Linked DNA regions of Homo sapiens: region 1 is linked to region 2. The links are contacts of gene promoters, found by promoter capture Hi-C in blood cells and fetal thymus (Javierre and others, 2016). All regions are on one chromosome and are shown on one strand. Each heading gives the region's core, a stretch centred on a gene start or on the middle of the fragment in contact. The rest is flanking DNA. Distances are from core to core; before and after follow the strand shown. Region 1 overlaps ODC1-DT (ODC1 divergent transcript). Region 2 holds the start of GRHL1 (grainyhead like transcription factor 1).

Region 1 (5,563 bases), core at 3,064-5,563, 500 kb before region 2:
GATTATATGTGTGAGCCACTACACCCAGCCCCAAATTTCCCCTTTATATCAGGACACCAGCCCACCCTAACACCCTCATTTAACTTAATGACCTCCATAAAGACCCTATCTCCTAATAAATTCACGTTCTGCAATACTAGGGTTAGGACTCAACATACGGTCTCGGGGGCAGGGGACATAATGTAACCCATAACAGAGGGCATCTTCATGCTCTTCGTGGGAGGCCTGAACCCATTTCCACGCAAAAGAGTGGATCCTAGTGGGTTTAGTCAACCATGGAGGGATGGGGGAAGGCGAAGGGATCCGTGCATTCCTCCTGGGGAGCCGAGGGGAAGGATGCTGGTCAAACTGGTTTCTTAGATAAAAAGAGACATAGAGGAAGAGATGCTTCTCCCTCTGTCCACAAGCCTTCCTGGGGCAGCCTTCTTGGAACCATGAAGAGAGCTGGGCCAACACCTGGGCAAGGAACTGCAAAAACAGGAAAAGAATCCAGGTCTTCAACGTTGTTCTTGAGGCTCCGAATACATGAAACTGGAGACTCCCTTCCCCAAGCCACGTTGCTACGTGAGATGACTGCTTTTCCTTATTGCTTAAGCCAATGTGAAATGTCACCAGTGCTTACCAGAACTCTGGTTAGAAACTGTCCTACAAGAAGGCAGAAGGAAGACTCTGACGGGCCTACCGCCAAGGGGCCGAGCCTGCCCTTGCCCGCCCGCTCTCAGACCCATTCCCCACTCCCACTGTGCCTCTGCTGTTTCTCTGGTGGAGTGGACAGGGCTGGCCTTGGAAAATGACACTGACCGGGATCTCTTGTCAACAGGCTTCTGACTGGGAAGTGCTGGTGGGAGCCTGGAGGATGGGCGGAGGGGAGAGCTGGCTCCTGTCCCTCCTCTCTGTCTCCATCTCCCTCTCCCTCTCTTGGCTTCGCAGCCTCCCCAGCACTAGCTGCTTGCCCTTGGTGGTCAGTGGGTTTCTCTGGGACAGCCCACAGGTGGCTGCCACGCTGCTGGGGACCCTCGTCCCCTTTCATCCCCAGTCCTCTGGGTGATAGTGGCTTCCTGCAGCTGTAAGACATGTCATCTCTGTAACTAGTTCTCTTGCTAAATTCCCTCTGCTGAACTGCCTGCCTGGGCCCTGAGCCATACAGGGCATGGAATGCCAAAGGGAAACATTCTGTGCCCGCATGTGGAGGCCGACCTGCCTTCTACGATGGCGGGGCCCTGCTGTCAGCCAGGATTTGGATGGACTGATGGAGGCTGGAGCTGGGTGAAGTAGCAGCCCCTGGGGGTGAGAGGCTGCTCCCCAGAGTGACTCCTCCTCTGCTCTCCCCTTCACAGCCCTCAGTCCTCTCCCAGAGGAAAGCTGGGCTTGTGGGCGGGAGCCTCCCTTGGTGCCCACAGGTCTTATTCTTGCCCTGGGTGCTGCAGGCCCCTCCCTAACTCTCCCTGGCCCTGGACGAGCCTTTCCAAACCCAGGCCCCTGCTCCCTCGGCTGCGTCCACCTCCTTTGTCTGTGTGACCACTGTCCCAGGGACCAGAACCTAGAGAGCACAAGCCTGGGGGCAGCCTCCCCTCTGGACCATGAGCTCCTGGAGCACAGGGACCTCCTTGGCCTCCCCTCCTTCTCCCTGGCACCTGGCAGGGGCGCTGGCACAGAGCAAGTGCTCACAGCTGTTAGAACAGAGACAGGGAGCACTGCCCTCAGGGTACCCTACCCCTTGGAGGGCCCGCAAGGCTCGGTGTAGCAGACCCCAGCCACAGGCCCTTCGGATGGTCCCGCCTCTGACTTGGCAGGGACGCAGAGCTCACACTGCCCCTGGGCAGAGCACTCACCTTCCTGAAGACCCAGGTTGTGCAAGGGCCCTCCGCATGCTGCTCCCTGTCACGAGAGGAAAAAATCTTGCAGGCGCTGGGGCTTCCCAGAGGTGGGGCCCCACCAGGGTGAGGCTCTGGCAAAAATGGGGCAGTGGCAAAGCCCAGCAGAGGTGCTGCAACTTGTTGGGTCAGAGGGAGTCACCAGGCGCTTAGGAGAAAATAAAACAAAAGAGGCAGTTTCCTTAGGCACTGGGTAAAAGCGAGGCTTCTCTTGGCTCTTATCAATTCCCTGCTGGTCCCCAGGAACCCGGCCCAGCCACAGAGGGTCCTCCCTTGTCCTGCCTGCCACTTGCACACAGGTGGCACTCAGCAGACACGTATGGAATGAATCAACAAACAACTGACTAAAGGAAGAACACCCAGGGTCTTTTGTTCCCCTAATCTTAGATAGCACGTGGGGAGAAATTCTCCTGAGCTAATCACTCGTATAGCAACCACAAATGACCACTTTTCAGCACAGCCTCGCTTGCTTTCTTTTGTTCCCAATAGCCCACAGGTGCTACTAAACCCAGTTTCAACTTGACAATATTGAATGGCTTTGTGAGCCAGGAACCAGGCTAGAAACTGAACATATGGAGAGAAGAAAATCATGGTCCTGATTTCAAAGGGAGAGTTGCGGGGAGGGGAAGGCAGGATGGAGGCAGGAAACAAAGGTGCCCACACCACGTGACCCACGTTACGATGGCAGGGGCAGGGTCTGTGGAACATCAGTGGCTCAGGGAGCTGGAGTGGCAAAAGAGGCTGGGAGGGTGGGCAGGGCAGGCCTCAGAGGGTCCTGGGTGCCAGGCTAAGGTGTTTGGACTTTACTCTGTGGACCCAGGGCCACCAGTGAAGGGCTTGAAACAGACAAGCCAAGTAGGCAGATGGCAAAGCTTCTGTCCACGTGTCGGATGGCATGTCTGAATACTGACTCGGTACAGGCTTAATGGGACTCTGACTTCTGCCCACTGAAAAAGACAAGGAAGTGGGAAGCAAAATAATGATAAACATCACTTTCCCCATGAAAATGAACTCCTCCAGGCCGGGTGCGGCGGCTCACACCTGTAATCCCAACACTTTGGGAGGCTGAGACGGGCGGATCATTTGAGGTCGGGAATTTGAGACCAGCCTGGCCAACATGGCGAAAACCTGTCTCTACTAAAAATACAAAAAATTAGCCAGGAGTGGTGGTGCACGCCTGTAGTCCCAGCTACTCAGGAGGCTGAGGCATAAGAATAACTTGAACCCAGGAGGCAGAGGCTGCAGTGAGCCAAGATTGTGCCACTGCACCACTCCAGCCTGGGTGACAGAGTAAGACTGTGTCTCAAAAAAAAAAAAAAAAAGTACTCTTCCAAACTCTCAGCCTCCAGACAAGGGCCCCCTCTTCTCTGCAACTGTGTGTGCCCACTGACCTGCCCCCAGGGCCCTTCTGGGCTCCAGGAGGCCCTGGCCTAGTTCCTATTTGGCTCCTTTCCCAGCAGCTTCCCAGTGAGCCACACCAGGGCTGGGGCAAGGTAGGGCCGTGATGTAACACTTTATAAAACAAACATCCTGGGACTTCCACTTACACATGGGCGTCCTCTGCTTCCAGCAGATCCTTTTGGAGGAGCTCCACTTTTCTGATGATGCCACCATTGCTCAGAGGAAGGAAGGCCTCCCTGAAAGCTGCTTTCTATGCCTCAGGCACGCCATTTGGATTATGGGCAGAGATGGCACACTTTCCACCTTGGAGGGTGGATTGGATTTTTCGGAAACACCTAAAACCATTCAAAGGGCAAGGTTAAAGGACTGGTGAGTGACTGAGCTAAGGAAAACTATTTTTGGCCAAACATCCAGATGGGACTAGAGCATCTGTGACTAGTCCCCATTACCCAGGTGTCCTGAGTTAGGGCACCCTTGCCAGGGCAGAAGCTAACCTCCCAAAGTCCTCATGGGGCTGGAGGTCATGAGCCTCACTCCACAGTCCACTCTTCTATGCTTCTGGAAGAAGTTTGGTGAAGTAGAGTACAACCACGGACACGTAAGCAGCGCCCAAACCCATTTTCCAGAAAGCTCTCAATGTCAAACTTTCCAATACTGAGTAAATGGATACACAAATGCTTGCTGGTTATTGTCTTCTATGTGACCTACTTCTTTTTGATAAGGGTGAGGCCAGGCGCGGTGGCTCACGCCTATCATCCCAGCACTTTGGGAGGCCAAGGCAGGCAGATCACTTGAGGTCAGGAGTTTGAGACCAGCCTGGCCAACATGGTGAAACCCCATCTCTACTAAAAATAGAGAAATCAGCTGGATGTGGTGGTGGGCGCCTGGATTCCCAGCTACTCAGGAGGCTGAGGCAGGAGAATTGCTTGAAACTGGGAGGCAGAGGTTGCAGTGAGCCAGTATTGCGCCACTGCACTCCAGCCTGGGCAACAGAGCAAGCCTCTTGACTCAAATAATAATAATAATAATGATAAGGGTGACTGCTTAAGTCTGCAATCACTATATACCTTTATAAGCCTTTTCATGTAAGTTAGCAAAGAAGAAAAAAGATACTTCCTTCATCAGACATGTTTTTGGTTTTGGTTTAGAAAACTTGGTCAGTGGATTTATACAGAACTCTGTGAAATAAGTAGATTCTTAGAACATTAGAAGGAAAGAAGAACCTGAGCTTTCAGCCAGTCCAACCACCCCATTTTCAGAAAGGTAGTCTGGAACCCAGAGAGACAGAGTGATGTCCAAACTTTCATAATGAGCGGGGCAGAGCGGCGGGGGGGTGGTAAGGGGGCCCAAGGAATCCTAAGAAAATGGGAGTTGGTCCCAGAACTTAGGTGAGATGACTAAGCTCTTAGAAGCATGTCCAGTGTAGTATCTAATGTTTTTATTCACTCTTTTAGCACCACACATAGAAGTCTCATCTCTGGCCAGGCACAGTGGCTCACGCCTGTCATCCCAGCACTTTGGGAGGCCGAGGTGGGTGGATCACTTGAGGTCAGGAGTTTGAGATCAGCCTAGCCAACATGGCGAAACCCCATCTCTACTAAAAATGCAAAAATTAGCTGGGCACGGTGGTACATGCCCGTAATCCCAGCTACTCAGGAGGCCGAGGCATGAGAATCGCTTGAGCCTGGGAGGCAGAGGTTGCAGTGAGACGAGATCACGTCACTGCACTCCAGCCTGGGCAACAGAGTGAGACTCTCAGAAAAAAAAAATAAAAAAGAAATCTCATCTCCACATGAGGGTGATTCCTAAGTGCGTGGCATCACGTATTTTTTTTACAAAGATCTGTTGCTTGTTTCCGAAGAAAAGAAAATAGTAATGGAGAGGATGAAGTTTACTGAAAATACATTGAAAGACAATAAAGTCATGCATTTTAAGTAAGGCCAGGTTTAGTCACCACCACCTGAGCTTCTGGAATCCAGCTGAGTGGTTGGGTTTCACAACTCCAGCCTTGCTGTCCACAGTTCTGCTGCCCAGGGCCTCTGCGGGTCTTCCTGCAGCCGCAGAGCAGAGCTCCGGGGAAGGAGCAGGCCTCCTTCCCTCCTTCTATTTCCCCTGCTGGGCTCTCCAGGCAAGGGCTCACCTTCCCAGCATGCGGGCAGGAGTTTGGGCTTTGGGGTGGGCTGGCGGGAGAGGAAGGTATGTGGGCGATAGCAGTGTGAGTGGCTTGTATGTGCAACAGTCAGAGCCCTCCTGGCTCCCTGAGCCAAGAACTGGCCTCTACGTTCCAG
Region 2 (5,996 bases), core at 1-2,500:
TGAAATATGTTTCAGGCAATAATTTAACTGCATATTCTACAACATAAGAGTAATCCATTTAAGATACTCCATACAAAATATCTATCTCATCCAGAAAAAGAACACACTGACAAAAACCGATCCTTCACAAATAACTAAGAAACTGGGAGGGGTACCTATCTGCCTTAAACTTCCTGATCTGAAATATACTGACTGGCCTGGTGCGATTTCCCTGTTTTTTCTTTAGTAAGTTTTTAAAATTTTTAGGACAATTTTATATTTTCAGAAAAGCTGCAAAGAAAATACAGAAAACTCCCTCGCCCAGTTAATCCCCCATGCCTTATTACACTACCACCTCACATTTGTCGAAATACGCTTTTAAATCACACACTCTAAAAAGCATATTAGCTTGTACAGTACTTTCTCGTTTAACACCCGGATTTCAAAGTTTCATCCTCTTGATTCTCTCGAGCACTAAAAACACGGTAATCTGTAATTACCATCAATGATGCAAGTGGCAAAATAACTCCTACAGCCGTTTTCCCACTCATGCCGCCAGCCAGGGAAAAGAAAACGCCCGGACATCGGGGCACTTCAACCTTTCCCTACATTTCTGTTTTGGAGGTTCCAGCAGGTCGCCGAGTGACGAGCCTGAGACCACAGATTACCTGGAGAAGTCCACCTGTCCCGACGCGGCGCGAGCCCCACCAGGCTCCCGAGGCCGACCGGGCAGGAGAGGGGGGCGGGGAGGCCCGGGGGCGTTGGCTGCGCCCCGACCTCGCGCCGCACCCGACCGCGCCGGGGGCCCGGACCCCAAGGTGCGCGCCCGAGGGGACCCAACCTGGCCGCGGAGGAGGGGAGGAGGGTGGCCCCTCCGGTGTCGAGTTTCCCCGAGGACAGGGTCTCTCCTCCCGAGGCTCCGACCGAACAAAGAGCACGGCAGGGCTAAGGGGCAAAGGCCGTGGCGGCGTGGAGTGGACAGCGGCCCCCGGCTCGCGCCCCGCGCCCGCCCGCCCGCGCGGCCTCGGGTCTGCGCCCGGCTCGCTCGCTGCAGGTGCGGCCCCTCAGCGCGGCCCCCCCGCGGCGGCCGGACTCCTGCGCCTCACTCACTTGTCGTACTCCTGTGTCATCGCGCCCGCTCGCCGCTGCCGGGCCGCAGAACTGGACTTTCGGGTTGGGACAGTACACCCGATCCGGGGGGAGGAGGCGGCGGCGGCGGCTGCGGGTCCGGAGCGGCGGCCCCGACGGGTTGGGTTTGCTTTTCTCGCTCTGAGCCGGCTCCGCGCGGGCTGCGCGCACTGGGCGCCGGGCTCGGCCGCTCATTGGCTGGCGATGCGCCGGCTGGGGGCGAGGCCTCGGGGCTGGGAGGCCGGTCGCGCCTCCTGATTGGTCGGCGAGAAGAGCGCCGGGGCGGGGCTGACGGGGACGAGCGGCGCGGGGCGGGGGGCGGGGGCCGCGCGTTCCGCGAGGTTGCGCCCGGGACTGCGCTCCCGGGGCTGCGCGCCCGACTCGCGGCCGTACGCGCCTGCCCTGACAGGAGAGGGAGCGCTGCGGCTGCGGCGCGCACCCGCCAACCTCCGCGCGCACCGAGAGCGCCCCCGCTCGCGCCCCGCCACCGCCCCCGCCGCCCCCGCCGTCCCCGCCGTCCCCGGCCATCCCCTTCGCGACGAGCCCCGGCCGTACAGCCGCCTCCTTCTTCGCTCACTCAGGCCTCCGCGCCCCGTGCCCACATTGCCCGCTGTTCCGGCCCCAGCGCCCCGCGCTGCCCCTGCGCTCGCCCGGCGGGGGCGCCTCTGCCGGTCGCCGCGCTCCCCGGTCGCGCGTCTCACCTCTCGGTTCTCGCAGGCTGTCACGCCCGAGTCCCGTGGCTTCCCCCGAGAGCCGTCTCCGGAATGTCCCTTCTCCTGGCCCACCGCGGCCGCGCGCTTTTAGGATTTCTTGCCCTCGCAGCTCCCGCGGTCCCCTCGGCGGCAGTCCCTGGGGCTCCGCGATGTCTGTGCCCCGCAGCCTCCCGGGCGCCACTTCCCCGCGCGGCCGCCCCACGCTGCCCGTGCAGTCGCGCGCCCCGGGCCGGCCCCGGGCACCACTCCACCGCGACGGCCCCCACTTGTCCTTCCCGAGCTGCCGTCTTTCCCAGGGTCCGCTCACTGAGTCCCCACATGCCCAGCGTCGGACCTGACCCTCGGACAGGCGCGGCCCCAGACGCCGGGGACAGGGCAGTCAACAGAACAGACACAACTCCTCGCCTTCCTAGTTGGGGTAACGGGCAATACAAAAACAAGTAAATGGTGTGGCTGGTTGGAAGGTAAAGCAGGCAGGCCCTGGGGAGGCGGGGAGGAGCGAGGCTTTCAGGCTTGAAGGAGATGAGGGGCCACGAAGGTGGGACTGTACCTGAGGCAGGGACCCTGGTGTGTTTTGTGACCCTTGAGGAGACCCGGGTGGCTGGTGGGGCACAGGGAGGCGGGAGCTGCGGTCAGAGATAGTGGGCGCAGGGGAGCGGATTGAGCAGGGCCTTGCCGGCTTCCGTAAGGACTGTGGCTTTCCCTCTGGGCTAGGTGGGGACGCCTTGGAGGGGCTTGGAGCAGGGTAGTGACAGGGTCTCACATTTTAAAATAGTTCTCTGCTGCTGCGTGGTGGGGACCAGGTAGGAGGCCATTGCCATGATGCAGGCCGAGGGCAATAGAGTGAGGTGGTGGGAAGTGGCCGAATTCTGGATATGCTTTGAAGGTGGGACCAGCAGGATTGTCTGAAAATTGGATATGGGGTGTGAGAGAAAGAGAGAATCAAGGATGACTACAGCGTTTCCAGCTGGGCAACTGGAGGAATGATTTGCCATCCCCTGGGATACAGAAGACCTGGGGCATAGAAGATTTGGGGGAGAACGAGAGTCTGTTTTGGACGTGCTAAGCTCAAGATGTATGGGAGATAAAAATCCATGAATCAGGTGGGCTCCTGGGTACGAGGCTGGAGTGCAAGGGAGAAGTCTGGGCTGAAGCTCACATCTGGGCGCCGCCCACGTCTAGAGGCCATTTAAAGCCATGAGAAGGCAGGAAGGAAAGAGGATGGGACCCATGCTGGATCCAGGAGCCTCCGACACAGAAAGGCTGGGAGGAAGAGCCAGTGGAGGAGACAGAAGACGGGGACACCGAGGTCGGAAGCAATGGAAGCGTGGAAGCCAAGGGAAGGAGGTGAAGTGAGGAGCAGCATGAGGTCACAGGGCCCTCCTGCAGCCAGCAGTCCCTCCTCTGTGCCCTGGTCCAAGGCCTTCAGGGACCGGAATCGGCAGCCTCACTTGAGACCGCCCTTCGCAGTTTCTGTCCTCTGACCCCGGGCCCAGCACTGGATCCATGCAGCCTGTTGTTTGTTCTTACCACTAGTTTCCTGTTTAAATCATTTATTATTTTTTTCTTTTCCTTTTTTTTTTTTTTTTTTTTTTTGAGGCGGAATCTCCCTCTGTTGCCCAGGCTGGAGTGCAGTGCCGTGATCTCAGCTTACTGCAACCTCTGCCTCCTGGGTTCAAGCGACTCTCCTGCCTCAGCCTCCCAAGTAGCTAGGATCACAGGCGCCCACCACCACGCTCGGCTAATTTTTCTATTTTTAGTAGAGATGGGGTTTCACTAAGTTGACCAGGCAGGTCTCAAACTCCTGACCTCAGGCAATCTGCCCGCCTCGGCCTCTCAAAGTGCTGGGATTACAGGCATGAGTCACCGCGCCCTGCCAAATCAATTATGTTTTCTAAGCACGCTAATTTAAGAAAAATGCTAGTCAATAACAGCACAGATGGTCCCAAATAGGGTACAAGTCATCAGGGTGGTGCCAAAGTGACTGACTTGGGAACAGTGTCCCTCTACCTGCCTTTCTTCTATTTCCTCTGACCCGGCTCCACACTGCCACTGGAGTGGCCTTTATAAAACACAGATTTCTTGTCACTCAGTTATACTCACCATAAAGTCCACACTCCTGAGCTCAGCCTCCCCTTGGCGGCCCAGCACTTCCCTTACTGCTCACTCCCAAGCACCGTCCCCGCATTCCCTGCTCCTTCCCTCCATGCTTGGCCCACTCCACTCAACTTCCAGCCTGGCTCATTTCCTCCAGGTGGCCTTCCCAACCCTCTAGGCTGGACAAGGTGTCCTGTGGGATCCACAGCGCCTTCTGCATTGCCCATCACCATGTTTGTCTTATGGGCTTTCCTGTTTGTGTCTGTCTCCACCAAGTGTGAGCTTTTCCAGAGAGGGCAGCGGTTGTACCACCTTCATTTTTATGTTCCTGGTGCCTGGTATATACATAGAAAATATCCAGCAAATGTCTACTGAATGGATGCAGTCCTCTGCAGGCATGCGTTCTGCGCCCAGTCTCCTCCCTTCTGTAGCATAGCTAGGGCTCTTTTAAATGACCCCCCCCACCGTTGCAGAAGATGAAAGTCCTTGAGCCTAATACATGGTAGGCACAAAATAAATAGGGGATGAATGAAGAAATATCCAATCATAAAGCCAAAAACAAGAACAGGAAGAGCCTGAGGTTATTAGACCATAGCTGTAGTAATTAAAAACATTGGGTCTATTTTGTCAATTTGAATATGGGATTGTTTAGTTTGTCTCTAATAGCTCTCTAAAACAGAAATGAAAATCTCTATCTATGACCTGTTGCCATGAACCCTGTTTATTTCATTTTATTTTATCTGAGACAGGGTCTCACTGTGTTACTCAGGCTGGAGTGCAGTGGCACCATCACAGCTCACCGCAGCCTTGACTTCCCAGGCTCAAGTGATTCTCCCACCTCAGCCTCCTGAGTAGCTGGGGCTACACGTGCACACCACCACACCTGGCTAGTGTGTATGTGTGTGTGTGTGTATGTTTTGTAGAGACAGGGTCTCACCATATTGCCCAGGCTGGTCTTGAACTCCTGTGCTCCAACGATCCTCCCATCCTCCCAGCCTCCCAAAGTGCTGGGATTACAGATGTGAACCACCATGCCTGGCCTACCCTCTTCATTTTTAAGTTCTTTACTATTTGTTTAAATTATTAAAGTAATATATGCACATAGTTTTTATGGAAGAAAAAATGCTGGGCGTGCTGGCTCACGCCTGTAATCCCAGAGCTTTGGGAGGCCGATGTGGGCAGATCACCTGAGGTCAGGGGTTTGAGACCAGCCTGGCCAACATGGTGAAACCCCATCTCTAACAAAAATACAAAAATTAGCCGGGCATGGTGGTGGGTATCTGTATTCCCAGCTACTCGGGAGGCTGAGGCAGGAGAATCGCTTGAACCCAGAAGGCGGAGGTTGCAGTGAGCCAAGATCGCGCCACTGCACTCCAGCCTGGGTGACAACAAGACTCCATCTCAAAAATAAAAAAAGATAGAAAGGGATTAGGAACGGGACAAAGAAAGGAGAAAGGAAGAAATTGAAGCTCTGCAGAAGGATACAGAATGCAGTCCCTGGCCTCCTCCATTCCCAGCCCCTAATCCTTGAGACAACCACTGTGAACAATTTGTGTTGATCTTTCCAGATATCTTCTGTCTGTACAAGCACTCACATGGTTTATTTTCTTAGACAAATGGGATTCGGACTGCACAATCTTCCACAGCTTGCTTGTTTTTCCTTTCTATGGTTTAAACATTTTCCACATCAGCACATAGAAATCTAGTTCACTTTAAAAAATGGCTGTATGGTGTTTCCTTGAATGGCTATATGATAACTTGAATGTATTGGTGAGCAATTAGGGTTTTTTCCCCTAGCTTTTCTTAATTACAAACATTCACAATAACACATTCCTCTAACTACATTTTTGCACACTTGATCAGGTATTGCCATAGGATAAATTCCTAGAATCGGAGTTACTGAGAAAAGGGAATGCACAGCTGCCATTTGGTTTTTTGTTTGTTTGTTTTTTGAGATGGAGTTTGGCTCTTGTTGCCCAGGCTGGAATGCAGTGATGCAATCTCTGCTCACTGCAACCTCCACGTCCCGGGTTCAAGTGATTCTCAAGCCTCAGCCTCCAGAGTAGCTGGGATTACCAG

The links. The method cuts DNA at HindIII sites, captures the fragments that hold promoters and counts their contacts. A CHiCAGO score of 5 or more calls a contact.
Region 1: a fragment that was not itself captured here is called in contact with the fragment with the promoter of GRHL1 in region 2 in 1 of 17 cell types (neutrophils); the score reaches 6.4 in neutrophils.

The regions. Positions count from the first base shown.
Region 1 is chr2:10,450,328-10,455,890 of GRCh38, reverse strand. It overlaps ODC1-DT (ODC1 divergent transcript), which reads right to left. Exons shown (of 5, transcript NR_110597.1): 3 at 3,422-3,610; 4 at 1,833-2,022; 5 at 339-468. Among named protein-coding and RNA genes, the nearest start is that of ODC1-DT, 3.4 kb to the right of the region's middle. The HindIII fragment of the contact is 3,130 bases long and covers 2,749-5,563 here.
Region 2 is chr2:9,946,947-9,952,942 of GRCh38, reverse strand. GRHL1 (grainyhead like transcription factor 1) reads right to left here and starts at 1,250. Exons shown (of 16, transcript NM_198182.3): 1 at 1,090-1,250. The coding sequence starts at 1,109. It overlaps LOC105373422 (a long non-coding RNA gene), which reads left to right and starts at 2,090. Exons shown (of 3, transcript XR_922784.4): 1 at 2,090-2,238. RefSeq lists silencers at 960-1,499, 1,590-1,639, 1,740-1,789, 1,940-2,019. The HindIII fragment of the contact is 14,804 bases long and covers 1-5,996 here.